Regions from separate parts of the Homo sapiens genome. Here all the other regions are linked to region 1. The links are contacts of gene promoters, found by promoter capture Hi-C in blood cells and fetal thymus (Javierre and others, 2016). All regions are on one chromosome and are shown on one strand. Each heading gives the region's core, a stretch centred on a gene start or on the middle of the fragment in contact. The rest is flanking DNA. Distances are from core to core; before and after follow the strand shown.

Region 1 (3,861 bases), core at 491-2,990:
TGGAGCCATCTCACCTTCACCTGCCTCAACAGGTAAGGAATGAAAGGATGCCAGGGGTTATTTGATCTACACAGATCAAATCAAGGGATATGAGTTTTGGACCCCAGACCAGCCCTCACCCTGCTTCTAAAAGCCAAAATAAATCTTGGGTCTTGGCCGGGCGTGGTGGCTCACGCCAATCCCAGCACTTTGGGAGGATGAGGCGGGTGGATCACCTGAGGTCAGGAGTTTGAGACCAGCCTGGCCAACATGGTGAAACCAGTGTCTACTAAAAATACAAAAATTAGCCGGGCGTGGTGGCAAGTGCCTGTAATCCCAGGTACTTGGAAGGCTGAGGCAGGAGAATTGCTTGAACCTGGGAGGCGGAGGTTGCAGTGAGCACAGATCTCACAGTTGCGCCACTGCACTCCAGCCTGGGCAACGGAGTGAGAGTCTGTCTCAGGAAAAAAAAAAAAAAAAAAAAAAAAAAAAAAAGAAATCTTGGGTCTTATATCCAAAAATCTTGAGTCTTACATTTGGTTACTTTTTTTTTTTTGAGACAGAGTTTCGCTCTTGTCGCCCAGGCTGGAGTACAGTGGTGCAATCTCTGCTCACTGCAACCTCCGCCTCCCAGGTTCAAGCGATTCTCCTGCCTCAGCCTTCCGAGTAGCTGGGACTACAGGCGCCCGCCACCACGCCCAGCTAATTTTTGTATTGTTAGAAGAGGCGGGGTTTCACCATGTTGGCCAGGCTGGTCTCCAACTCCTGACCTCAGATGATCCACCTGCCTCGGCCTCCCAAAGTGCCGGGGTTACAAGCGTGAGCCACTGTGCCAGGCCGACATTTGGTTACGTTCATTAGGAAACACTAACTCCTCCCTCACCCCAATCAAAAGAAAGCCTTTCCCCTTGAAGAAGCTTCTTGTCAAGGGCAAACCTTTGGGGTTTTGGGATACGGTGGCGGCTTGAGTTGAAGTCTGGTCTTTTGTGAGGAGACCAGGAACCGGGAGGGGAGAAAAGAGACAAATTCTGAGTAGGAGCTTCGCCTGTCCCTTGGCGAGGGGTGGGGAGGAAAGTTTAGCTTCGTCGTGCTATGCTCTATGGGGACAGAGTCTTCCTACTGCTCGGCGGAGTGTGACTAGCGTAGAGGGTGCTCCTCGTGGGCGCTCCGCGTGTGTTATGGAGGAGGGCGAGGAATGGTGAATGGATGACCGAGGGTATGGTTAAGTCCTCCAGGTCCCTGAGAAGGGTTCAAGAGGCCTGTAACAGACCCATGGGCAAGGGTGGGATCAACCTCCTTCCCACCTTCCACCCCCCAATTCCCAGAGAATTCGTTCCCCCAGATCAGTGGAGAAAACTTCGGCGAGTGAGAAGGTTCCAGGGAGAACCCCGTGGTGGGTGCAACAGGGATGTGGCAGGCACTGCTTGGGACTTTCCAAAACCCCGGCGTCTGCCGTGGCAGGAAAAGCACCACCCAAGCTCAGCATGTTACCTCGGGGAGGAGGAGCCAGGTGGGTCTGTGCAACTCCAGGAAGGGCTGCCAGGTCTGGGGCTTCGGGGCCTCCCCGAGGGCAGAGAGGAGCGCTTCGGACCCGACCGACTCGGAGCAGACCTTCAGGGTTCAATGCCCCGGAACTCCTGGGGCGAGGAGCCACGCCCGGGCAGTTTCGGGCTCCGGAGGGTGGGGAGTCGGTGCCCGGCAGCGGGCGGGCCGTCAGCTGCCCGGCCCGGCGCCTACCTCCCCGCCCCCCGGCTTCCTGCGGAGGCCGCGGCCGCCATGTTGTTGTGGGGCTGAGGCGGCGCCGGCGGAGCCCTGAGCGGCTGTGACAGGCTACGCAACAGGTTCGCGGGCGGCGGCCTGACGACCAAGCCAGCTGCAGTGGCGGCGACGGCGGCAGAGCAGGGTCTCCCCGCGCCTGCCCGCGCCCAGGCTGCCGGTGCTGAGGGACGCGGAGTCGCGCTGTGACGAGCGGGAGGCGCGGCGAGGGCGCCAGGTGGGTGAAGCCGCTAGCGGGGCTGCAGCAAGGCGCGGGGCAGGTGCGGGCGCCGCGCCCGCTGCCCGGAGGCTCTGCGGGTCGGGCTGAGGCGGCTGTGCGCTCCGCACGATGGGGACGGGTCCTCGGGAGTACGGGCGGCCCCCGAGCTAGGCCCCTGGCGGGCTCGGCCGTGCGGGGCGGAAACCTCCGGCCCCGGGTTCCTTCCTCTGCTGCCGGGCCGGGACAGACGCCGAGGGGGCCTGGGCTGGGCTGCCCCTTCCTTGCGGCCGAGCCCGGGTCCCTGGCCGCGGCCTCGTCTGGCAGGTGGCGGACGCCGGCGAGGGTCGGGGGTGGCGTGGCCCCCTCGCTTTCGGGGTGTGAGCAGAAGAGAGCTCTGGGGGCACCCGCACGCCTCCTCGGGGACCCATTTTATTTTCGCGGAGTTGGTTTTCCTTCCTGGCAAGGGTTGGTGCCGAATGTCAGGTGAGCCGCATCCCGGTGCGTCAAAGTAGCCCGAGTCACGAGAGGACAGTGGGCGGATGCTTGGCGTCTACCGCTCGCGTTCCTCCGGAGTTGGAAATGTTAAATTTACCTTCAGCGTTATTGACTTCCAGAATATACAGGAAGCACCGAGAGATGTAATCTCTCAGGCCAGATAAAGTTTATTTGTGTATTTATTTATTTATTTTTAAAGACGTCTGCATATGCATAGTGAGTGGGTAAACCGAGGCTGAAACTGCAGATGGCTTTGTATTCTATAGAAAGATGCTCCGTTTGGATTTATTAATTATGCGCCTTGTCGCTCTAGAATTACCAATGGCAAGTGTGCTTTATTTGAAACTTGTGTTAATACTGAAATAGGAATATTTTTTGATGGAGCCAACCCCTTTACGATAGGAATTAAGGTTAGCATAGAAATGACTTGCTTTGCTCCATGCTTCTAGTTTGTCTCACTAGTGTTTGCTTGCTTACTCAGAAATAGGCAAGGTGTGACTTGAAATTTTACGTTGTTAGTGAGCTCAGTTTAGGTAGCATAGCTCTTGTAGTTTAAAGCTTCTTAAGCGTTTCGAAAAATTGCCTCTCTCCCTGTGCTGGTTTGCTATATTGTTAATCAGTGATAAAACCTAAAAGCTACCTAGAAACATCGCATAAAACATTTACGCGAATTAATAATGACGTCCTTCCAAATTTAAAGATACTGACAACTCTGATGTGTTTTCCTTTAGCTTTTTTTGGCTGTGCCTGTGACTCTCTTGTAATTTCAAAAGTAAATAAAGTGGATGTATTTTATGTTTTTGAAAACGTGGAAAAAATGTGCATTGCTGCTATTTTGATGTAATATTAATAAGCAGTTGAAAAGCTTGCATTTTTTCACCCTTCCATGCATTGATAACTATTCCCTGTGCCCACCTTTGTAATGAAAGGTAAACTCGTCCAAGAAAACTTGACCTGTACAGAATTACTAAGCAGGGAGTTACCATTGTTCGGTACATCTCAAGGCTAAAATCTTGATCTCTCCTGAATATGAGGAGGTGTGTTAGGCATGTTTTGGGGATTGGATTAATAGTGTTAAAAAATTTGTATTTTCACAAAAATAGCATGTACCCATCACCCAAACTCAGCAGCTTTCAAGAAGCTTTTCTTTTTTTCTTTCTTATTTTAAAAAATCCTTTAACCTTATGTAGTTAGTATATCTTTTTTAAAAAGTAGAAAATCATGTAACCTTAGGATTTTTAGTTTTAATGTAGAGTTTCACAAATTTCCATCTTTAGTAAGACAAAAGGGTCACATATTGGCTGTCTCCTTCAACTATACTTTCTTCAGTATAAAATATGTTTACCATGGTTGTCATTTATCGAGCACGTAACTGCATGTTAGACTCTATGCTAAGTGTTTTACATAATCAT
Region 2 (3,861 bases), core at 427-2,926, 450 kb before region 1:
GAAACAAGCATCGGAAAGGTAACGGTCAAACTTCTAACTCACAGTTAGGAAACACTGAAAATACAAAAAACATCCCCCTTTTAAGTTGATCTTGGGCCCACGGATGAGGCATATAACATCCCAGAGAGATACCTGAAGCCGGTCTGCCTGGTACTTCCTCCCAGAGTAAGCATTCAGGTACTCGCAGAGACTGAACAGGAAGTGCTGGATGTTGGTCTGTAAATATTTTGCAGCTATCTCTTCCAGGGGAATGAAGACTGGGACTGAATGGTGATGTATCCGGAGTGGTTTCTGTATGACAAGGTCCACAAAATAGGAATCCAATAGGTTCCCCTCAAAAGCAGTACTGATGCAGACACAAACTCCTCGGCTGGTCAGTTTACCACTGAGGCCTGAGGCAAACAAGAAGACACCTCAATAGACAGCAGGCCAAGGTGATGTCTTACTCATCTGTGCCTCCAGTAGCTTCCACAGTGCCTAGAATATGTACACTTTGTACACAAATGTTTGTTCAATGAGTATCATAGGCTCATTCTTCCCCTTGGCTCCGGCTCACTTTGAGACTGAGTTGTTAAAACCATGGAAGAATGGTAAAAATGAAAAAACAACCTAAATGTCAAACTATTGAGAAATTTTTTTTTTTTTTTTTTTGAGATAGGGTTTCACTCTGTCACCCAGGCTGGAGTGCGGTGGCACGATCTCAGCTCACTGCAACCTCAACTTCCTGGGCTTAAATGATCCTCCCATCTCAGCCTCCCAAACAGCTGGGACCACAAGCGCATGCCACCTCACCTGGCTCATTTTTAAATTTTTAGTAGAGATGAGGTCTTGCTATGTTGCCCAGGCTGGTCTCGAACTCCTGGACTCAAGTAATCCTGCCTCAGCCTCCCAAAGTGATGGGATTACAGGCATAAGCAAGGCCAAAAATTTAATTTATAGCTATTCTTTATTTCTGAGTGTGAAGTAATTTGTCAGAGTCCCCAGTTCTTCCCACAACTATCTTGTGGCATAGATGGGAGAATAAATCCCTATTTACGGTGAAACGGAGACTTGGAAAGTTCAAACTATTTCACTAGTGGCAGAAAACAAGCCAGCAGTAAAGACAGTTCTAGTACAAGGTCTGGCACATGACGAACTGTTAAGATGAGTGGAATAAGCCAGCCACCAACTGAGCTGCTGTACAAAGGGGCCAGTCAATCTTGTAGGTGAAGATAGGCCTACAAATAGCACGTCAGCTGTGTGTGTGTCTGTGTGTGTGTGTGTGTGTGAGTGATGAGGGCAGAGGGTGTAAAATACTATAAATTATGAAATAATTCCAGGACTGATAACACATCTAGCAAACTAACTCACTAGAGGCAGACCCAGACTAAATTAGGTTAAAAAAACAAACAAAACCTGTAAAATGATATGCCTGCAGAATGGCTTTCACATTTTCCAATTTCTCTTCCAATGCTTCTTGCTCATTGATCTCCACTGTTTGGTTGGGTTCTACATTGGCAATACATGCTTTCACCTGCAAGATATGCAGCAAATCAATCTTGGTACAAAGAGGTACACTACAACATCCCCGCCCTCCCCCAACTGGATGAAAGCTAAATACAAGGCACATGATATAATACATCAAGAAATGCTACAGTGGCCGGTCAGTTATTGCTATGAATTCACTGCAGAGGAAGAATCTCATGGGTCACAATGCCAGGAATCAGAAGTGGAGACTGTACAGGTCTGAAGAACAATTCGATTTTTGATGGGAATGGACAGGACTGAGAGAGCAGCAAGAAAAGGTTGTGTGGAAAGTCTAGGCTAAGCACAGGGTGGACACAACAGGTGGCTGTGAAGAGGCAAGGCTGGGTAAGTTGTGCTTGGACAGTGTGGGGTTTCAAGTGCCAGGGCTCCAAGGCTTACGCTGCTAGCTATGGCCCAGCAGAAGGTACCAGGCTGACCCGCCCTCTGAGAACAACTATGCAAGCTGGATAAAATACCAAAAAGAAACAAGCAAGCAAAGAGAGCAAATGGTTTGAAGGCATTCCAGAAGGATCCAAATAGCCAGGATTGGAGAGTACTGACAAATGCTCTGAGCTGGCTTCCCTGCAGCCTCTGGCCTCAGAGCATTTCCTTATTCATATGCAAGGCACACTGGGCCACATAGAAAGGCATAAACTAGACTCCGCAGCAGTCTCATCCGGAACAAACACTGGACATTAATGGTATCAAAGCAGACTTTCTACGGGCCAAGATTCCATAGAAACAGGAACTCAACGTTCTGCTTGCAATCTTCCCTCCCGGCATTTGCTAATTCCTAAGCTGCACAGGTGTGACTGGGGACTGAGAAACCAAACGGAAAGAAGCTGCTAAAGGGGAAAAAGCCAAGCAGAGATTTTGCTAGAACAAAATGTGGATTTCAGGGCCTGCCAGGGAACAGGAGCCTTAATAGACCCATCTCCAACACACTCCCAAACTTTCAACTGAAGGTCCTAAAAAAAGCTAAGCCCTAGGAGTAAGGGAAACCGGAAATAGACCACCTCAACTGAATAAAGGTGATGTGCCCATACACGATCTACTTGCCAGAAAAACACTAAAATTTCCTCTGGAGGAAGATAACATACTCAGAACCCATATATTTTTCCTTCTTTCTTTCTTTTTTCCAGACAGAGTTTTGCTGTTACCCAGGCTGGAGTGCAATGGCACAATCTCGGCTCACTGCAACCTCCGCCTCCCGGGTTCAAGCCATTCTCCTCCCTCAGCCTCCCGAGTAGCTGGGATTACAGGTGTGCGCCACCACGCCTCGCTAATTTTTGTATTTTTAGTAGAGACAGGGTTTCACCATGTTGGCCAGGCTGGTCTTGAACTCCTGACGTTAGATGATCCACCCGCCTTGGCCTCCCAAAGTGCTGGGATTACAGGCGTGAGCCACAGCACCTGACCTCCGTATATTTTTTCATACACAATACTCATCATTGAATTAAAAAAAAAAAAAAAAAAAAAACTACAGGCATACCAGGAAAGAGAAACAGATGACTGAAAGCCAAGAGGAAAAAGAAGACAACAGAACAGATGCCAAGGGATTCAGCTATTTCAATAATGGGGCATGGCCATTAAAACAGGCTAAAAGATGGAAACCCAGACCAAAGAGCTGGAATCTATACAGAAAAGAATGAGACGGAAATCTTAGAACCAAAAAAATACAGTAACTCAAATTAGAATTTTAATAGATTTAAAAGCCAACTAGACAAATAAGATCTTACGTGGAGTGGAAAGTAGGCATATTTTCCATATCCAGATTAAAGTACAGAGAAAAAAATAAGATTAGAAAATTACTAAGACATAGGTCACAGAAAACAAAAACAAAAACACCCATACATGGGAGCCCCAGAAATAGAGAAAAACTGAGAAGATGCACTATTTAAAGAGATATTGGCCAATGTTGTAAAACAGATGAAAAACATCAATTAAAGAAGCTTTACAAGCACCAAACAGGATAAAAAAAAAAATCATGCTTAGCCACATTGATCTAAAATTGCTAAAAACCAAAGACAAAGAAAATCTTAAGCCCGAAGAAAAAGACATATTATATTCACAAACATAAGATTAACACCTGACTAATAAGGCCAAAACTTCACACCTGACAAGATACTATGGCCCTAGAAGACAACAGAATGATATAAAGTTTGAAAGAAAATAAATTCTAATATCTAATTATATACTCACCAAATATACTCTTAAAAAATAAAAAACATAGTGAAATAAAGATGTCTTCAGTCAAACAAATATGGAGATTTTACTGCCAGCGATACCAAAAGAAGTACCAAAAGGAGCTACTTAACTGAAAGAAAATAATCGCAGATGGAAATGTGAAAATGA
Region 3 (3,861 bases), core at 477-2,976, 440 kb after region 1:
GGGGGAAAGCAATATTTTATGTTCTAGGGGTCTACAAGATCGCGGTTTGTGTGTGCTTTTCTTTGTGTCTTACACTGTTTTGACACTAACAGAATGGATCTAGGCAGAGACAGGAATATTTTACCATACTACTCTGAAATATTTTTATTATATCTTTGAAAATCGTTTTGGCTTTTCTTTGATAAAATTTTGGGCATTATAACGTCCTATTTAATAGACTATTTTGGGGGCTTACAGCTCTCTTAGGTTGAAATAAGGTTAAATCTGAAAGTTGTGCAAACTGTTGAGAATAAGTACTTTGAAGACGAGGCTTTCGGTGGAAACTATTCCAAACATGTTCAAGCTTCTTGACCTACTGAGGCTATCACATATTTTAAAATAAAACTCAATTTAAGAAAAGATCTTTTCTGTACATTTAAGGACAAAGAAAATATTTAGGGTGTAAGCATTTAATCGTATCATGCTATGTGAATGCCTAGTCTGTTAGAGCAGTGTCTAACTCATCTGAAGCAATTAGCTCATCTTCACTCATCAGTTTGTGGTCCCATTTTTGAATTCATGGATATCATGCTGTCCTCACCCCCCGAGGAATAAGGTGAGGTAATTTGTCAAGCAGCTGTTATAGAGATGTTAAAAGGCTAGGAATCAATAATCTAATGAGGAAATGAACATTTGGTAGCTTTTAAATTGCTAAAAGAATGAAAGATATGAGAGCTCTTTGTAGAAGGGTACTAATGAAACTTTGTTTCAAAGATCCTTTTAAAATGTTTTAAAGCACCATAAATAACAGGGTACTAAAGATTTACTTTGAAATATTTGTTTTTCAGTCTTAAGAAGATTTATGTTCGGCTCTAGGAGATGATGTAGTCATCTAATTGCTTTCTCTGAAAGGTTTTTTTAGAGACGTAACTACTCTTACATAGTGATTGGACCTTTAGAAGAGGATAAATTATAATTCTGAATTTATTAAGTTTATGGACTATATATTTATGAAGCAGGTTGTATATTTCTGGTTAGCTCTTCTCCAGTTTTGTAGGAATTTAGCACTCCTGGTTCACCCTTTCTGGAGTACTTAAAGACACCCTCTATGTCTGTGGGGTCTGTAATAAGCATTTGCCAGTGTCTGTAAAGTCTCATTTGGTGCAAAATGGGGTTGCCCGTGTTGTTGCTTTCGCAGACCCTTATTTTTGTAGAAAGAAATGTATTCCTGTTTGTAACATAATATTCCTGTTTGTAATTGAGGAGTTTCTCCTTTTTCTGCTTTTGTGCCATGTTTGTTTGTTTGTTTTTTTTTGAGACGGAGTCTCGCTGTAGCCCAGGCTGGAGTGCAGTGGCGCGATCTCGGCTCACTGCAGGCTCCGCCCCCCGGGGTTCACGCCATTCTCCTGCCTCAGCCTCCCGAGTAGCTGGGACTACAGGCGCCCGCCACCACGCCCGGCTAATTTTTTTGTATTTTTATTAGAGACGGGGTTTCACGGTGTTAGCCAGGATGGTGTCGATCTCCTGACCTCGTCATCAGCCCGCCTCGGCCTCCCAAAGTGCTGGGATTACAGGCGTGAGCCACCGCGCCCAGCCTGTGCCATGTTCTTAACTAACTACACTTGATGCCTATTTTTCCCCCTTTTCCCTGTTTTTAGATTATTTCATTCACTGTGTCCAGAGACATTTTATTTGCTTTAAAAAGTCATAGCGCTATGAGCTTTTCTTAAAGTTTTGTCTTTTTCCCAAGTAGTATATGCATAGGATGGGGGAAAATATGCATTCTGCCGATTATTGGAATTATTTTCTTTTTCTTTTTTTCGGTATGAAAAGCCTTTTTTTTTTTTGACATGTAAAAGGTGGTACTTAGTGTATATAACTCTGTGAGTTTGGAGATAAGTATATATTTGTGAAAACACCACCGCATCAACACCATAGACATGTCCGTCATTCCTAAAGTTTCCCTGTCCCTTTTATTATGAATGTATTATTAGTATTATTTTTGTGGTAAGAACACTTGATATAAAATCTACCCTCTTAGAAAATTTTAAGTATGCAATACAGTATTCTTAGATGTAGGCACTATGCTATATAGATCTCCAGAACTTATCTGGCATAAGTGAAACTTGATTGTCCCCCCACAAGACCCTGGCAATCACCCTTCTACTCTCTGCTTCTGTGAATTTGCTAGTTTAGATTCCACTAAACTAGCAGATAAGTGAGATCATTCAGTATTTGTCTTTCTGGGACTGACATATTATTTAGTGTAACATCCTCTAGGTGCATCTGTGTTGTTGTAAATGGCAGGATTTCCTTCTTAGGCTTAATAGTATTCCACTGGGCATGCACACATGTACACCACGTTTTCTACATTCATCTCTTTTTGGACATTTAGATTGTTTCCATGTCTTAGCTATTAATAATGCTACTGCGAACATGGAAGTGCAGATGTCCGTCGAAATCCTAATTTCAATTCCTTTGGATAAATACCCAGAAGTTGGGATTGCTGGATCATATGGTAGTTCTATTTTTAATTTTTTGAGGAACGTTCATACTGTTTTCCATAGTGGCTGCACCATTTTGCATTTCTACTGACATGTACCAGGATTCCCTTTTTTCTACATCTCCCCAATATTTGTTGTCTCTTGTCTTTTTGACAAGAGCCATTTTGACAGGTGTGAGGTGATATCTCATTGTGGTTTTGATTTGCATTTCCCTGATGATTAGTAATGTTGAGCACCTTTTTATATACCTGACAGGTGTCTGTTTAGTTAGGACCCTTTTTTTTTTTTTTTGAGACAGAGTCTTACTCTGATGCCCAGGCTGGAGTGGTTCACTGCAGCCTTAAAATCCTGCTTTGCCCATTAAAAAATGTTTTCTTCCTTTGGAGTTGTAGGAGTACCCTATGTATTTTGGAAATTAACTGCTTATCAGATATATGGTTTGCAGATTTTTCTCTTAATCTGTAGATTGCCTTTGTGCCCTCACTTTTAAATTTTCTTATTTTTTTTTCCTCTCTTATCATTACCCACAATGCCCACACTTTTAAAATATCAGGTTGTTTTTTAGTGCTATGCAGTTAGATGTGATTACTCCTGTATACTGTGGCTTTTGTTTTGCTCCAAGCTTTCATAAAGCTTGACCCCTTTTAGATCAGTTAATCTGGCCCTCAGTCATTAGCGTTTATTTGCTCCACCTAGGTGTCACTCCTAGTAAACAATCTAATACTGTATTCACAAAACTGTACAGCAATCTTTGAAAATTATTTCAACTCTTTTTTTCTACTTCTCCTAATTGTTAGGTCTGTTTGCTGGTATTTCTGGCTTTTTCACTAGCTTTTTAGGCTTTTTGAGATAGTCATTGACTCTGAGTCCCCATCTTGTGAGATCAAAATAAATATTTTGAGTAACTTTAGAAGTAAAATGCTGTATTACTTTATTTTTATTTTAATTAAAAAAATCCCTAGGTCCTTCTTTAGTATACTTTTATCACCTTGTGCTTTTCCTTTTCTAACACTCATGCGTTTGCCAACATAACAAAGCAGAGTGGTCGAAATTGAGGGTTAAAGAGGTAAAAGAAGTCTGAGAGGGAAATCTCATAATGTGTGTAACTCTCAGATGAGCAGGGGAAAATATAAGTTCATCAGAACAGAGCAAGTTTTTCCTTATACTGTATCAGATTTACATGGAGTACAATATAGGTACTCCTATAGTACAATATAGGTACAATATATTGTAACGTGACAATGTTCCCTGCCACAATTTCGAACCAAAGCAGTAGTGGAGTTCATAGGATTGTCTCTGGTAGCCAAGTGAAAATGCAGCTTAAATTCAGTTACAGGCTATTTCTGTAGTCCAGATATACACGCATTCTGTTGTTTAG
Region 4 (3,861 bases), core at 371-2,870, 420 kb before region 1:
GCATTTTTTTTTGAGACAGAGTCTCACTCTGTTGCCCAGGCTAGAGTGCAGTGGCATGATCTCAGCTCACTGCAACCTCTGCCTCCCAGGTTCAAGCGATTCTCCTGCCTCAGCCTCCCAAGTAGCTGGGACTACAGGCGCCTGCCACCACGCCTGGCTAATTTTTGTATTTTTAATAGAGACGGGGTTTCACCATGTTGCCCAGGCTGGTCTCGATCTCCTGGCCTCGTGATCCGCCCGCCTTGGCCTCCCAAAGTGCTACATTACAGGCATGAGCACTGCGCCCGGCCACTAATGTGCAATTTTAAAGACAAATCCTCAGGTCTAAAGATTCCCAGGATGACTAGCCACAACTTACTTTTGAGCTGGTAATGAATAAAGTGACTGAAGTCATCTCTTTACTTGGGGTTATAAAAATCACATACCAAAAGACTGATTAAAAACCTAGAACTGGTTCATTATACTATTCTTTCTACTTTCACAGACACTTAGAAATTTCCTTAATAAAAAGCTATTTAGAAGCTTTCAACTGAAGGTAGGATGAAAATTTAAAGCCTAAGCTCAGAGTCATGCGAGTCTTTAAATAGGGTGTGCTCTATAGGGAGCTTTTCCCCAGATGGTTTTGCTTAAAGTCTAGCTTGCTAAGTAATTATTATTTAAAGTATAATTGCTAACATTAGAAGAATGTTAAAATGGAAAGCTAATTTTTAAAATTTATGCTTTTTTTTTAAAATTTTTTTTGAGATGGAGTCTCACTGTCTCACTCTGTGGCCCAAGCTGGAGTGCAATGGCGCGATCTCAGCTCATCGCAACCTTTGCCTCAGGGGGTCAAGTGATTCTCCTGCCTCAGCCTCCCAAGTAGCTGGGACTACAGGTGTGCACCACCACACCCGGTTAATTTTTTTGTATTTTTAGTAGAAACAGGGTTTCACCATGTTGCCCTGGGTGGTCTCGAACTCCTGAGCTCAGGTGATCCACCTGCCTCGGCCTCTCAAAGTGCTGGGATTACAGGCATGAGCTACCGTGCCCGGCCAATTTATGCTTTTTTAAAAATAGAAGTTTGCAAGGCAAAAAGGAAGATGATCAGGAAATATGTAGCCTAAAGTTAAGTATAGGCAGGTATGTGATAAATTACTTTGGACTTGAAAAAGCAGCAGAACTGAGCAGGGCTGGAATGCTTCTTCAGGAATGAGGAAGGAAACTCCAGGCAAGACCTTTGTTCCTGTTAGAGGAAGGTCAGCCTGTTTGTTGATGTGTCCCTTCTGTTCACTTTCTGAGTTAAGTCACTCAGCTTTTAGAGGCATTGGTTTTAAAGGCCAAACTGATAGAAATTTCACAAGGAGCCATCTTATTCTTGTTTAATTTCAACATGAATTGCTTCTCAGCAGCATTTTATTGTAGGTAAAAGAGTGAATAGGACATACGAAAAGAAAAGAAAAATTTGGGGACCCCCAAACTCACTGTGCTAAAGGGAAAGTTAAACTTGTGAACTGAAGCACACAAAAACTTCCTTCCTTTTATTCTTAAACAGATAGCTGTGATTTCACATGCTGACCTTACCTTATGTGTAAAAGGAATGGCTGGGCACAGTGGCTCACGCCTGTAATCCCAAGGCAAGCAGATCACTTGAGGCCAGAAGTTTGAGACAAGCCTGGCCAACACAGCAAAACCTCGTCTCTACTAAAAATACAAAAAATTAGCCAGGTGTGATGGCACATGCCTGTAATCCCAGCTACTCAAGAGGCTGAGGCCCAAGAATTGCTTGAACTCAGGAGGTGGAGGTTGCAGTGAGCTGAGATCATGCCACTGCACTCTAGCCTGGGTGACAGAGGGAGATCCTGTCTCAAAAAAAAAAAAAAGAAAAGAAAAGAAAAGAAAAGAAAAAAATAAAGATTTATTGAGTGCAGGAAAAATGCATAATTGACTTTCCCCTACTCCTGTCTTTTCAAACGTAAAATGTGAATTCAGTGAGTGCTAATCAAAGCCTCACAAGAATGTAACGATTTGCCTTACCACCTAACCTCCCCCTTTCTCTTTCCTCCTACCCCTTCTGTCCACTCTTTGCCCTTTAAATACTGAAGTCCTCAAAACCATCTTTGAAAACAGTACAGGCCACAGATCCTATTGTAACTTGTATTTCTTTTTCCCATGCACAACCTCAACTGTGGCAAAGTAAACCTCTAAATCAGTTGAGATCTGTCTCAGACACTTTTTGGTTTATACTATATATTCATTTTTGTAGGGAAGACTGGAAGTGATTGTCTCACCGATCTGCCTTTCCTACTTTCTCAGTTAAGATGGTAGTCAACTCAATCAGCTGATTTTCAGTGAGAGGGTAATTTCGGAGAAGTGGAAAGGGTTTAACCCAAGCATATATCATCTATAAAGCTGAGAGCTTGATGAAGTATTGCAGATAACTGCTAATGTTCTGTAAATTCTCCAACGATGTAGAGGCTCCTAGAGTGTGAGAATTTCGAAACTCCTAGTGAAAGGGACTTGTATTCACTCACCTTTTATGAAAACAAACAAACAAACAAACAAAAAACAGTTGATACAGGAGCTAGAAAGAAATTATTTAGGTAGATAGTGAGGGCAACAGAGTCCTTGACGGATTTTCCCTTTTAACAAAAAGCAGCCCCCCCCACAATCATTTCTTTTCTAACAAAGAACAGCCTGAAAAATCAAACTGCAGTCATAGATAAGCAAGCTGGAAGCTTGCATGGGTGAATGCTGCCAGTTGTGCCAATAGAAAAGGGCTACCTGGGCTGGGCGCAGCGGTGGCTCATGCTGGTAATCCCAGCACTCTGGGAGGCCAGGGTGGGCGGATCACGAGGTCAGGAGGTCGAGACCATCCTGGCTAACACGGTGAAACCCCATCTCTACTAAAAATACAAAAAATTAGCCGGGCGTGGTGGCAGGCGCCTGTAGTCCCAGCTACTTGGGAGGCTGAGGCAGGAGAATGACATGAACCCGGGAGGCGGAGTTTGCAGTGAGCCGAGATTGCGCCACTGCACTCCAGCCTGGGCCACAGAGTGAGACTCCATCTCAAAAAAAAAAAAAAAAAAAAAAAAAAGGGCCACCTGAGGGCCAGGCATGCTCAACATGGAGGCTCCAGCTTCCCTTTGTCACCATGTGTAAAGAACCAGGTAACATGGCGCAGGCCAGTTAGAGAACCCGTCTGCATAATAAAAGATTAGTGTGGGACAACCACCTTCTTTGCATGCTATGCAAATGGTACACCTACAGTTCTCACCAGCTTTTTGTGTGCTATGTAAATGGCACAGCTGGTCCAACCAATCTTGTACACCCTATGTAAATCAGACACCTCTTCCTCAAGCTCATCTATAAAACCTTATGCATTTCACTGCAGAAGTGGCAAACCATTTCCCATTTTCTCCGGGACCCCTCTCTTTGCAGCAGAGAGAGTTTTTCTCTTTCTTCCAACTATTAAGGTTCTGCTCTGAACCTCACTCTTGGTGTGTCTGCATCCTAGTTTTCCGTGGCCATGAGACAACGAATCTTGGGTATTTATTTACCCTAGATGGTGATGCCGTTTCATAGTCATCAAGATGAAATCAAAATCCTGTCTTGACCTTTTAGACAAGTCTGCAACCTTCTATCAGCTCAACAATCCAGACTCTAGGGAGACAACTCAGTGCCAGTCTACCCACAGCAATTTTCCCTTATTTGAAATATTGCCTTTGAGTCTATTTCTTCAACCAGCATTTAAGATCCTACTATGTAGAAGGTTCGGCGGGAGGCTAGGGGTGGTAGGAGTGTGTGTATCTCTTCTTTAAGAGGCTTACAATTTAGTGAAGAAAAGAAACAGATGTACATATAACTGCATGCCAATGGAGACCC
Region 5 (3,861 bases), core at 956-3,455, 400 kb before region 1:
GTGATCTCGGCTCACTGCAGGCTCCGCCCCCCGGGGTTCATGCCATTCTCCTGCCTCAGCCTCCCAAGTAGCTGGGACTACAGGCACCCGCCACCTCACCCGGCTAATTTTTTGGATTTTTAGTAGAGACAGGGTTTCACCATGTTAGCCAGGATGGTCTTAATCTCCTGACCTTGTGATCCGCCCGCCTCGGCCTCCCAAAGTGCTGGGATTACAGGCATGAGCCACCGCGCCCGGCCCACAATTTCTAAATTAGGTTAATATAGGAAAGTGGCCACCTTGCTGTTTGTGCTGTTTTGAAACATACTTCTTAGGAGGTGAAGTATACAGCAGGTACTCTGTTTTGTCTGAATTACTGAGATCTTCTGAGGTATTTTGATTACAGATGAGTTTTTAGCACTGTGCTTATTTACAAAATAACAATTAGTGGCCACCATTTGTGATCACTTTATCCTATCTAAGCACTGAGTTAAGCCATCTGAACTGATCTCATTGAATCCTCTCAACAATCCTATAAGCAGGTGTCATGTTAGTTCTGTGGTTATACAGCAGCTCAGGAAAGCTCCATAACATGCCCAGGACGACACAGCTAAGAAGAGCAGAGCCAGGACTCACACCCAGGTCTGACTCCCAAGGTCAGGCTCTTAATGATGCTACACAATGACCTCTGTGCATCTAGAGTACATTTGACAGCTCTGGGCTTAGAATTTCCTTACTGACCTGGGTTCCATCTGCTTCTGTTTTGAGAAGGTCAGTGGATGAGAGCTGGTTGCAGTAGAGGCCTGTGTGTCTCAGTGCGGGATCATTTATCTATTAAAGATAAATACAAGATCAAATTACAAGCTAGTTGTTTAAACTGAAAACCAAATTCTCCAATGAAAAACAATCTCACTGACAGAAAAGTAATAGGAGCACAGCAAAAATGAAAAGCTTAGCAATTAACTGTGTTGTTACAAGTCAGGATAGTCATTCCCCTTGTGGGGTAGTGAGTGTGTAAGGGACACAAGGAGAACCTCTGGGGTACTGATGACATTCTGTTTCTTGATCTGAGTGGTACTCAGGTGTGTTCACTTTGTGAAAATCTATTGAGTTGTACACTTTTCTCTATATTCTTATATATGATACTTTAATAAAAAGTTAATTCACACATACATATGTTAATTAGTGGTAGACTCACACTTTGGTCAAGATTTAGTAACAGGGATCAGACTTATCCTCCTGCCTCAATCAGCTAAAAAAATTGACAAAATATGTGAAAAAAAGGCACTGAAGACATTAGACAAAGGCAACGAAGGACAGTGATCCCTAACAGTTCAGCAGTCCCTACTGTGGCAACCGCCCAGCCTACTGCCTGGAGTGTATTTCCGGCTGTATCATGGACAAAGGGAATCCAGGCAGCGCCTGGCAGGCTCCCTGAGTTAAGGGGATGCAGCTAGAATCCTCAGAGCAGAATATCAGAGAGAGCTCTGGAATAGATCTGCAGTGGCCCTCAAGTCTGAAGCTCAGTACTAATCAGCTTATAGATGCAGGGGAAACAATCACCTGAATAGATGACATGGAACAATTCCCAAAGTCCCCACAGGGCTGGGAATAAGCCCTGATTTCACCCCCCAGAGTGGAAAACATCGTAATTCATGTAGTATCATGTAGCATATTAAAGGTTTTACCTTGGTGGTAAGGTTAGAATTAGCCCTAGAAAAAATACTGCTTTGGTCGCAGTAAACAAAAAAGCAAGGATCAAACTTCCAAGTAACCATTTCCTAGAACAAAGCTCAAGAATATTTGTAGGAATATAAACAAGGTAAAATTCATGTCTGGCATCCAATAAAAAATTACCAGGCATGCAAAGAGGCAGAAAAATATGATGCATAATGAAAAGGGAAGTCAACTGAAATCAATTCAAAAATGATGCTGATAATAGAACTGATAGGTGAGAAATATCAGGACAATTATAATAACCATATTCCATTTGTTTAAGAAATAAGAGGAAAGGCTGAACAGATATGAAAAAAATGTTGGAGATATGGAAGATATAAAAAGGATCCAAATATGACTGCTAGATATGAAAACTGCTATGTCTGAGATGAAAAATACACTGTATAAACAGATTAGATATTGCAAAATAAAGAATTAGTGAACCTGAGGCTACAGTAATATAAATGTTCTAAAATCAAAGAAAAAAATAACTGAACCTCATCCCAGTGCTCGAAAGCCCCCAAACCTAGAGAATCGGTGAATGTGAGACAATTTCAAGTGCACTATACATGCAACTGAAGTCTCTGAAGGAGAGGAATAAGGATGGTGACAAAAATTATTTGAAGAAATAATGATCAATATTTTCCAAAATTTGGCCGGGTGTGGTGGCTCACGCCTATAATCCCAGCACTTTGGGAGGCCGAGGTGGGCAGATCACCTGAGGTCAGGGGTTTGAGACCAGTCTGGCCAACATGGCAAAATCCCGTCTCTACTAAAAACATAAAAATTAGCTGGGTGTGGTGGCGCACCCCTGTACTCCCAGCTACTCAGAAGGCTGAGGCAGGAGAATTGCTTGAACCCAGGAGGTGGAGGTTACAGTGAGTGGAGACTGCGCCATTACACTCCAGCCTGGGTGACAGAGTGAGACTCTGTCTCAAAAAAACCACAAAAAAACAAAAAACGACAACAAAAAATTTTTTCCAAAATTTAATGAAAATTATATGGTAATGAATCAAGAAGCTCAATGAACCCCAAGAATAAGAAATATGAAGAAAATACACTGAAGCATATCATAATCAAATTACTTAGAACCAGTGGTGGAGAGAAAAATCAAAATCAGCCAGAGGGGAAAAACATCAATCATACATGGAAGAACAAAGATAAAATGACAGCAGATGTCTCATCAGCAACACTGTAGTGGAGCAACATCTTTAAAGTACTGAAAGCTAAAACTGCCAAGCTAGAGTTTAGGGGAAAGAACATTCAAAGATGAAGGTGAAAGACTTTTTCAGACATAGAAAAGCTCATTAGCCGCAGGCCTGCACTATAAAAATGTTAAAGCCAAGGCCGGGCGCGGTGGCTCACGCCTGTAATCCCAGCACTTTGGGAGGCCGAGGCGGGCAGAACATGATGTCAGGAGATTGAGACCATCCTGGCTAACACAGTGAAACCCCATCTCTACCAAAAATACAAAAAAAAAAAAAAAAAAAAAAAATTAGCCGGGCATGGTGGCGGGTGCCTGTAGTCCCAGCTACTTGGGAGTCTGAAGCAGGAGAATCGGTTGAACCTGGGAGGTGGAGGTTGCAGTGAGCTGAGGTTGTGCCACCACACTCCAGCCTGGGCTAAAGGGCGAGACTCCATCTCAAAAAAAAAAAAAAGAAAAAAAAAAAGTTAAAGCAAGACCCTCAGGCAGAAGGAAAATAATACCAAATGGAAATTTAGAACTACAAAAAGAATGCAGAAAATTTAAAGTGGTGACTATGTGGGTAAATATAAAAAAGCTTTTATTTAAATTTTCTTTAAATAGTCAATTATAGTTTATAATTAATTTATAAATTTGTAAGTAGAATTTATAAATTTATAATTTATAATTGACTAAAGAAAAAATAATAAATTGCAGGGAACAGAACATATATAAATATAACATGTATGACAACAGTAGCACAGGAGGGACAAAATAGAAATAAATTGTAATGAGGTTCTATACATTATATATACCTCTATACATTATATTATACCTCTATACATACATATATCACCTCATGTGATATAGAGGTGATATAATATACACCTCTATACATGAGGTGATATAGTATCATTTGAAGATAAAAAAGGTAATTGGTGTTTATATATTTTTATGATTGCCTATAAATGATGGCTGCATGG
Region 6 (3,861 bases), core at 398-2,897, 370 kb before region 1:
GGCTAGTCTCAAACTCCTAACCTCAAGCAATCTTCCTGCCTACGCCTCTCAAAATGGGGGGGTTATAGGTGTAAGCCATCACATCCAGCCTGGTTTAATTTTTAAAGCTTTGTTTTAAATCTTGATATCGGTAGAGCAAGTATACCCTCATTTTATTAATACTTCAAGATTGTATTGATGCTTCTAAAACAAATTTAGCATCTATTTGTCAAATTCCATGTTGAGATTTTATTGGAATTCCACTGAATTTACTGATTGAATTTGGAACAACTGTCATCTTTTTACAAGCGACAACCAATTAGGAGACATAATTTCTTTCATGAGTATTTTTTTTTGGATGTTCTTTTTGCCTTTCAATTATGACTTCCACATCTTCTAAGTTTTGAACAGTGTGAATTTCTTTTTTCTTCTTTTTTTTTTTTTTTGAGATGGAGTTTCGCTCTTGTCACCAAGGCTGGAGTGCAATGGCACAATCTTGGCTCACTGCAACCTCCACCTCCTGGATTCAAGCGATTCTCCTGTCTCAGCCTCCTGAGTAGCTGGGAACACGCCACCACACCCAGCTAATTTTTGTATTTTTAGTAGAGACGGGGCTTCACCATGTTGGCCAGGCTGGTCTCGAACTCTTGACCTCAGGTGATCCGCCCACCTCGGCCTCCCAAAGTGCTGGGGTTACAGGCGTGAGCCACCGTGCCTGGCCTGAATGTATTTTTAATTAATTTTCTAGTAAAAAGAATTGCCATTAATTTTTGTTTCTTGTTCTTTTATCTAAAATCCTTGCTGAACTACTCTATTTGTTCTAAGTTCCCTATAGATTCTTTTGGATTTTCTGTTTTTTGTTTTGTTTTGTTTTGTTTTTGAGATGGAGTCTTGTTCTGTCACTCAGGGTGGAGTGCAGTGGCACAATCTTGGCTCATGGCAACCTCCACCTCCCAGTTTCAAGCAATTCTCCTGCCTCAGCCTCCCCAGTAACTGGGATTACAGGCATGCACCACCATGCCCAGCTAACTTTTGTATTTTTAGTAGAGATGAGGTTTCACCATGTTGCGCAGGGTGGTCTTGAACTCCGGAGCTCAGGCAACCCACCCGCCTCGGCCTCCCAAAGTGCTAGGATTACAGGCGTGAGCCACTGTGCCCGGCCAGATTCTTTTGGATTTTCTATATAAATAGTTGTATTATTTGCATATAATTTTGTTTCTTTCTCATGTTTGCTTTTTTTGTATTTCAAAATGACTTAATTTTTAGTGCGCTAATGGTGTTCTTTTTTTTGTCTACACTGACATGAACTTAGTCACAGACACAAAAAATACAACCTGTTATTTAATAGGATTTAAGGCAGGAGAAAGGGGAGATATATTAATACTACCTCAGTTCACTATTTTATCCCAACTGTGAATTTAACTATATAACTTTAAACAATATATTTAAACCTCAATTTCTTGATTTAATCAGGCACTGTTATTGCCAACCCGCAGCCATTTACTCTCCCCTTCTTTCTTGAAGACAGAACAGATTTTGTTCAGCTGACCATCCCAAATCACACAACTCCAGGGGTAATCCAGGAGTATTCTCAGTCAGTCTTTGCGAACCATTGGTTAAGGGTGTACATGTGACTCAGTTCTGACTAGTCAGACATGTGAAGTATTTTTTCCCCCTTTTTACTTTTTTTTTTTGTTCCTTTTTTTCTTTTTTTGGCGGGGGATGGGGTGGGAAGACCTTCTGGAAAAAGTTTCCTGGCTTTTGGAAAGAGGTACATAGGAAAGAAACAGTCCCTTTTCTTCTGCTAGTTATAGTTTTGTTTGCCTACGGTATTTGTAATCATGGCATGCCAAGGATTGCAGAGCAAAAAGAGAAAGAACCTGGGTCCTTGATAACATCCCTGAATCTCTGAAGTAACCACACCTTGGTCTGCTTTCATTTTGGATTGTCAATTGGGTCAAAATATTTTCTTTATTGTTTTACTATGCTGAGTTGATCTTTTTTTCTTTCCTTGTGGCTGAAAGCATCTTAACCAAGACACTGACTGAGAACCTTGGCCAGACCTGCTCACAGAAAGCCCTTAAGTGGACACATGTAAAACTCCTAGTACTTGCAGTGCAAGTGAAGCTGAGCGACCTAGTGCTGAAACAGTAAGAACTTATGGCTTAAAAGAGAAGGAACAGGCCCCGATATGTGGCTCGTTAGGTAGCAGAGTTACTGTCTTAGTTTGCAGTAGAAGTTGTTTTTGCGTATAGACATACATGGGGCTTATAACATGGTGAGCCCCAAATTCTGTGTTTCTTCAACTTGGTGGATACTTTACTCTGTTAGGTTACCATGCCATCTCTGGATAGGCATCCATGAGATTTAAGGGAAGCAAAGAGCAGCAACTTTCACTTATTTGCATCTTATTCTCATACCTTTGCAGGGCTTCTCTGCTTATCAGCTGTTTTAGGAGCAAATGGAAGCCAAAACAACTTTTTTTTTCTGAATCAAGCATGAATCATCATTCCATTCATTCATGAACCTGACCTAGACCCTTGGTCTGGCCTTGCTCATTGACCCTTTAATATTAGGCAGTATTTACAGAACTTTACATTGTAAAATGAGAAACTAGCACACCTACACTTTCCTTTACTTTTTTGGTTTAGCCCTTAATCACATACTGCTTGCAGCGTCACTTAACTTTTCAGGTATGTAGTCAAAATGGTTTTCAGGTCTTGTAGTCAAAAAGCCAAGCAGTTGCCTGTTTCTTTTATTCCTTGTATTCCTTATAGTACCTAGTGTAGTCCCCTTAAATATGTTCTGTGAAAAATTAAACACGGGGAAACTGTTAAGCATTTCTTATTCTGGTGCCCTCTATCTAAAGATGAATGGAAAGCTACAAGAAGTAGTTTATCTTCAATTAATATCTCAGAACATTTATGATTCCTTCTCTTTCTCTTTTCCTCTCTCTTCCTTTAATTCTTCTTTGAATCCTTTATTCTACCCTAGCATTTAAAAAATTATTCCTTTTATTGTTATTCTATCATTTAAAAAATTTCCCTTTCTTAGTTCTCCTTTTCTCTTCTCTTTCGTCATCTTCCTTTTTTTAAACAGAATGGAAGCACATTTTATATTACATATTATGTTTATTGAATGCAACTTTATAGTAATAGCTAATATTTATCAACTGCTACAATATGCCAGGCATTATGCTACAAGCTTTACATGTTTTGTCTCATTTATTCCATACAACCACCAGTGAGGGAAAGGAGTTCTTTATTAGACTCTTTTTATAGATGAGGAATTAGAGGTTTTAAAAGGTAAATCATTTGATTAAGGCAACCCACTTAAGTTTGGAACTGGGACTTGAAACTAGAACTCTTAAAACCATTACATCATACTGCCTTTCCAGTATAATTTATCTCCTTCTTTCTCTTCCTTCCTGAATTAGTAAGTCTCCAGGGAACCTCTTTAAATACTTTTATAAAAATTCAAGGCAATATACAAATATGGTTTTAGAAACTACAAGATTCATAACAAGCAGCAACAATCTACAGCTCAGGTCCCCCTTCCCACAGCTGGCTTTTTTTTTTTTTTTTTTGAGACAGAGTCTTGCTCTGTCACCCAGGCTGGAGTGTAATGGCACAATCTCGGCTTGCTGCAACCTCCACCTCCCGGGTTCAAGTGATTCTCCTGCCTCAACCTCCAGAGTAGCTGGGATTATAGGCACGTGCCACCATGCCCGTTTTTTTTTTTTTTTTTTTTTTGTACTTTTAGTAGAAATGGGGTTTCATCATGTTGGCCACGCTGGTCTCGAACTCCTAACCTCAAGTGATCCACCCGCCTTGGTCTCCCAAAGTGCTGGGATTAGAGGCGTGAGCCACCACGCCCGGCCCA
Region 7 (3,861 bases), core at 903-3,402, 310 kb after region 1:
TAAATTTGGCTGGAATTTAAAGCTACGGGGCTGGATACAAAGCCTAAGGAAGCCTAACCACAGAGCCGATATTTAGAGGACTCTATGGGATCCTGGAGGAGGGAGCAGCTAACTGACCACAGAAGTCAAGGAAAACATCATAGAGGAGAGAATGGTGAAGCCAGGTCTTGAAAGACAAGTAAGAGTTTGCCAGAGGAAGTGAAAAAACACCATCTGGGAAGAGGGAACAACATGTAACATGTTCAAAGGCCCTCAGTCCAGCAATAGCGGGAACCCTGTCTGTTTCAACTGTGTCACCTTAGGGCCTAGCACACACGTTCAATAAATATTTGCTGAACGAGTGGTGTGTTTGACAACTTGCAGGCAGCTTGGGAAAGCTGGAGGAAAAAGTTAGTGGTGGGCTTAGGACAGGTGGTGAGAGATGAAGCTCTAGTGTGGAAGATGAGAATAGACCATAGCACCAAAGGCCCCTCCTGGGGGAGAGGGAAGAATCATTAAAACATCTTCTGCCTGAGGGAGGGGCATAGTCAAACATGCATTTTTTTTCTTTTTTTTTTTTGAGATAGAGTCTTGCTCTGTCACCCAGGCTGGAGTGCAATGGCACAATCTCAGCTCACTGCAACCTCTGGCTCCCAGGGTCAAGTGATTCTCCTGCCCCAGCCTCCCGAGTAGCTGGGATTACAGGTGCGTACCACCATGCCCAGCTAATTTTTGTATTTTTAGTAGAGACGGGGTTTCAACATGTTGGTCAGGCTGGTCTCGAACTCCTGACCTTGTGATCCGCCCGCCTCAGCCTCCCAAAGTGCTGGGATTACAGGCGTGAGCCACTGCATTTTAAGAAGAGTCTTCAGGCTATGATATAGAAAGGGAGTGAATATGAGATTGGGGACGAGATTGAAAGCAGGGAGGAGAGACTGAAGATGGGGAGATTAGCTCAGGGGCTGCTGAGGGATGAAAAGGCCTCAGGGAGATGCTTTCTGGGACCCAGCAGCAATGTTTCCTGCGTGGGCAAAGAAGCCTGTACTCCAGGGGATATCTGAAGTAGTGGCTGGGATTGGACAAGGAAGATGGCCTGGAGCCAAGAAGTTATCCAATTTCCTGGGGAGGGGAGCTGTTCATATTAATAATATCTGATATGAAGTTTGCCCATCAAACCCTGCAGACAATGGGGGCTTTGGTATTAATTAAATTTCAAGAAATAAAGAAATGGCTATTCCTTGCACACCCAGACCCAGTAATACAAGGACTTGGGAAAGTGAGACACGGAAGGGGGATAAAGAGGATCACTTAGGAGAGAAGGTGGGAAGCGAGAGTTCTGTTTTGGACTTGCTGACCAGGGAGCACCCTGGGACGTCCAGGGAGAGGTTCGGCCGTAGGTCGCAGGGCTGGGCTTAGAAGCTTCAATGTGGAGGCCATGGGAGTGGACAGGGTGGCCAGGGAGTCTGAAAGCGGCGGCAGGATAAAGCGAGATCCGGAAGCGGGCAAGGGAGCGCTTCCCCCTTCCCCAGCCTGGGTCTGTCCCCACAGCCGCTCACAGCCCGGCCCGCAGGGAAGCGACCGAGGGGAGGCCCGGCGGGGGACGCGCTAGGAGGAGGTCCCCGAGCAGCGGGTATCCGAGAGCAGGTCCTGCTTTCCAGAGCTCGCCGAGTAGGGCAGGGAAAGCGAAGCCGAAACCCAGGCTGGGGTATCAGCAGCAGCGGATAACCGAACGACTGCAGCCGCGACAGGAGAAGCCCGGGGCGGTGGCGGGCCGCAGACCCCCGCCTCCGGGCCGCAGACCCCCGCCTCCGAGCTGCCGCCTACATTCCCCTAGGTGAGCGCGGAAGAGGATGGCGGAGGATGGTCTCCTAGACCCCCAAGAATCCCGTCCGGCGTCTCCGCCTGCCTTCCCCATCCAGCCCCCCGACCCTTCAGCACCCTCCACGCCACCTCCGAATCAGACCCCCGCCCTCCGGGCTCCGCCCCGGGACCCCTCCCCTCCCCTGGCTCCGGAGGGAGCCCGGTACCGTCTCCGGGGGAGATGGTCTCGATCTCCACGCCCATAGCGGTCCCACAGGCCCCGCCTCTGGGGGGTCCCTGCTGCTGCCCGACCCCGGCTCGGCTCCGGCCCCAGCCCCGCCGTCGCTCCGGCTCGCCTCCTCGCCGCCACTGCAGAGCCGGAGGAGGTGCGGCTGGAGTCGGGACCTGCGCGGGGAGGGGCCACTGGCAAGGGGGCGGCGGGGCGGAGCCGCGCGGAAAGGTGGGGTCGGCCGGGGCGGGGCCCGGGGGAAGGGACCCCGCCCGGCTGTTAGCGAGCCTGGCCCCGCCTGACGACATTAACCCACTGACCAGGGAGCGTGGTAAGCACAACCACATCCTCCATCCATCCATTCATTCGCGCATCCGTCCAATAGACATTTATTTAGCATCTAATCTGTAGTAAGCTCTGGGAAGTCAACCCAGTCCTACAGACTTGTGGGGGGTGGGGGGCAGAAGGGGCAAAGGCCGGCGATTAAACCATCATTTTATTTTTATTTTTATTTTAGACAGAGGATCTTGCTCTGTCGCCCAGGCTGGAGTCCAGTGGCGCGATCATAGCTCACAGCAACCTCGAACTCTTAGGCTCAAGCGATCCTTCTTCCTCAGCCTCCACCCAAGTAGCTGGGACTAGAGGCGCGAGCAACCACGCCCAGCTAATCTTTTATTTTTTATTTTTATTTTTTGTAGAAACGGGGTCTCGCTGTGTTGCTATCTAATGAAACCATCACTTTAATTAGATGCGCTCAGTGCCGTGCAGTTCAGAGCGTTGCGGAAGCACAGAAGAGGTTCCTACCCTCGCTAGGCGTCCTGGATCTGTAGGAGCAGAGCTGGGGGAGGGAGGGAGGACACCAGTAATTGCTGACTCTCCCCCATACCCCTAAACCCCTGTTCTCCATCTCGTGTAGTTCTGCTCGACGCACATTTATTGGGTACTCAATTTTCAAGGCAAAGAAATGCGCCCTGGGGATACCAATAGAATTAAGACAGGTTGGCTGTCTTCCAGGTACTAAGTCTGAGAGGGACGGGGACACACAGTTACTGCATGGAGTGATTAGTGCTGTGGAATGAATGAATGAATATGTAAATGAATTCTACTTTGAGTTCCTCCTCCACCAAAAAATACATTCAGGAATCTAGAAAAATATTTTTTGGAGGAGGTAATATTTGTTTAAAGGGTAATTGGGACTTTTAAAATTTTTTCCCCCTCATTATTACCTGCATTGTTCCAAAAATTGATGTGAGGCCAAGTATATCAATTTTTGGAACAATGGCTCACACCTGTAATCTCAACACTGTAGGAGACCGAGGCAGGAGGATTGCTTGAGCCTAGAAGTTCAAGACCAGCCTGGGTAACATAGCGAGATCCCGTCTCTCTCTCTCTCCTTTTTTTTTTTTTTTTTTTTGAGACAGAATCTTCACTCTGTCGCCAGGATGGAGTGCAGTGGCACAATCTCGGCTCACTGCAACCTCCGCCTCCCAGGTTCAAGCGATTCTCGTGCCTCAGTCTCCCAAGTAGCTGGGATTACAGGCGTGAGACACCAGCGTTCGGCTAATTTTTAAATTTTTAGTAGAGACAGGGTTTCACCATGTTGGCCAGGCTGGTCTCGAACTCCCGACCTCAGGTTATCCGCCCGCCTCAGCCTCCCAAAGTGCTGGGATTACAGGCATGCCATCTTTATTTTTAAAAAAAGAAAAGAAAAGAAAAAGAAAAACATAAAAACTGATGTGAAGATATGATTCTCCTGAGTGGCACTGGAAGATAGGCATGGGGAGAAAAGCCTGGCAAACTGGTCCAGAATGAGCCCCAAGGGTGTTCTTCCTCCATTTCCTCATCCCCACTCT

The links. The method cuts DNA at HindIII sites, captures the fragments that hold promoters and counts their contacts. A CHiCAGO score of 5 or more calls a contact.
Region 2: a contact is called between a fragment that was not itself captured here and the fragment with the promoter of ITSN2 in region 1, in 8 of 17 cell types (monocytes, neutrophils, fetal thymus and 5 more). The highest score is 7.6, in monocytes.
Region 3: a fragment that was not itself captured here is called in contact with the fragment with the promoter of ITSN2 in region 1 in 1 of 17 cell types (erythroblasts); the score reaches 5.2 in erythroblasts.
Region 4: a contact is called between a fragment that was not itself captured here and the fragment with the promoter of ITSN2 in region 1, in 1 of 17 cell types (neutrophils). The highest score is 6.2, in neutrophils.
Region 5: a fragment that was not itself captured here is called in contact with the fragment with the promoter of ITSN2 in region 1 in 1 of 17 cell types (neutrophils); the score reaches 5.9 in neutrophils.
Region 6: a contact is called between a fragment that was not itself captured here and the fragment with the promoter of ITSN2 in region 1, in 1 of 17 cell types (neutrophils). The highest score is 9.6, in neutrophils.
Region 7: the fragment with the promoter of FKBP1B here is called in contact with the fragment with the promoter of ITSN2 in region 1 in 14 of 17 cell types (erythroblasts, endothelial precursors, fetal thymus and 11 more); the score reaches 17.8 in erythroblasts.

Annotation. Positions count from the first base shown.
Region 1 is chr2:24,358,415-24,362,275 of GRCh38, reverse strand. ITSN2 (intersectin 2) reads left to right here and starts at 1,740. Exons shown (of 40, transcript NM_006277.3): 1 at 1,740-1,972. RefSeq lists an enhancer at 1,307-1,456 and silencers at 1,557-1,856, 1,867-1,916, 1,927-2,326. The HindIII fragment of the contact is 2,111 bases long and covers 899-3,009 here.
Region 2 is chr2:24,812,028-24,815,888 of GRCh38, reverse strand. CENPO (centromere protein O) reads right to left here. Exons shown (of 8, transcript NM_001322101.2): 4 at 1,396-1,513; 5 at 133-392. Among named protein-coding and RNA genes, the nearest start is that of CENPO, 21 kb to the right of the region's middle. The HindIII fragment of the contact is 3,568 bases long and covers 1-3,460 here.
Region 3 is chr2:23,921,615-23,925,475 of GRCh38, reverse strand. All of the region lies in intron 1 of ATAD2B (ATPase family AAA domain containing 2B), which reads left to right. Among named protein-coding and RNA genes, the nearest start is that of ATAD2B, 3.6 kb to the left of the region's middle. The HindIII fragment of the contact is 2,762 bases long and covers 346-3,107 here.
Region 4 is chr2:24,776,654-24,780,514 of GRCh38, reverse strand. No RefSeq gene overlaps it. Among named protein-coding and RNA genes, the nearest start is that of PTRHD1, 15 kb to the left of the region's middle. The HindIII fragment of the contact is 2,192 bases long and covers 525-2,716 here.
Region 5 is chr2:24,759,636-24,763,496 of GRCh38, reverse strand. NCOA1 (nuclear receptor coactivator 1) reads right to left here. Exons shown (of 23, transcript NM_003743.5): 22 at 721-810. Among named protein-coding and RNA genes, the nearest start is that of PTRHD1, 32 kb to the left of the region's middle. The HindIII fragment of the contact is 2,546 bases long and covers 933-3,478 here.
Region 6 is chr2:24,730,742-24,734,602 of GRCh38, reverse strand. The region is part of intron 17 of NCOA1 (nuclear receptor coactivator 1); the gene reads right to left. Among named protein-coding and RNA genes, the nearest start is that of PTRHD1, 61 kb to the left of the region's middle. The HindIII fragment of the contact is 3,076 bases long and covers 110-3,185 here.
Region 7 is chr2:24,048,032-24,051,892 of GRCh38, reverse strand. It overlaps FKBP1B (FKBP prolyl isomerase 1B), which reads right to left and starts at 2,152. Exons shown (of 4, transcript NM_004116.5): 1 at 2,007-2,152. The coding sequence starts at 2,043. RefSeq lists a silencer at 1,991-2,290. The HindIII fragment of the contact is 22,874 bases long and covers 1,401-3,861 here.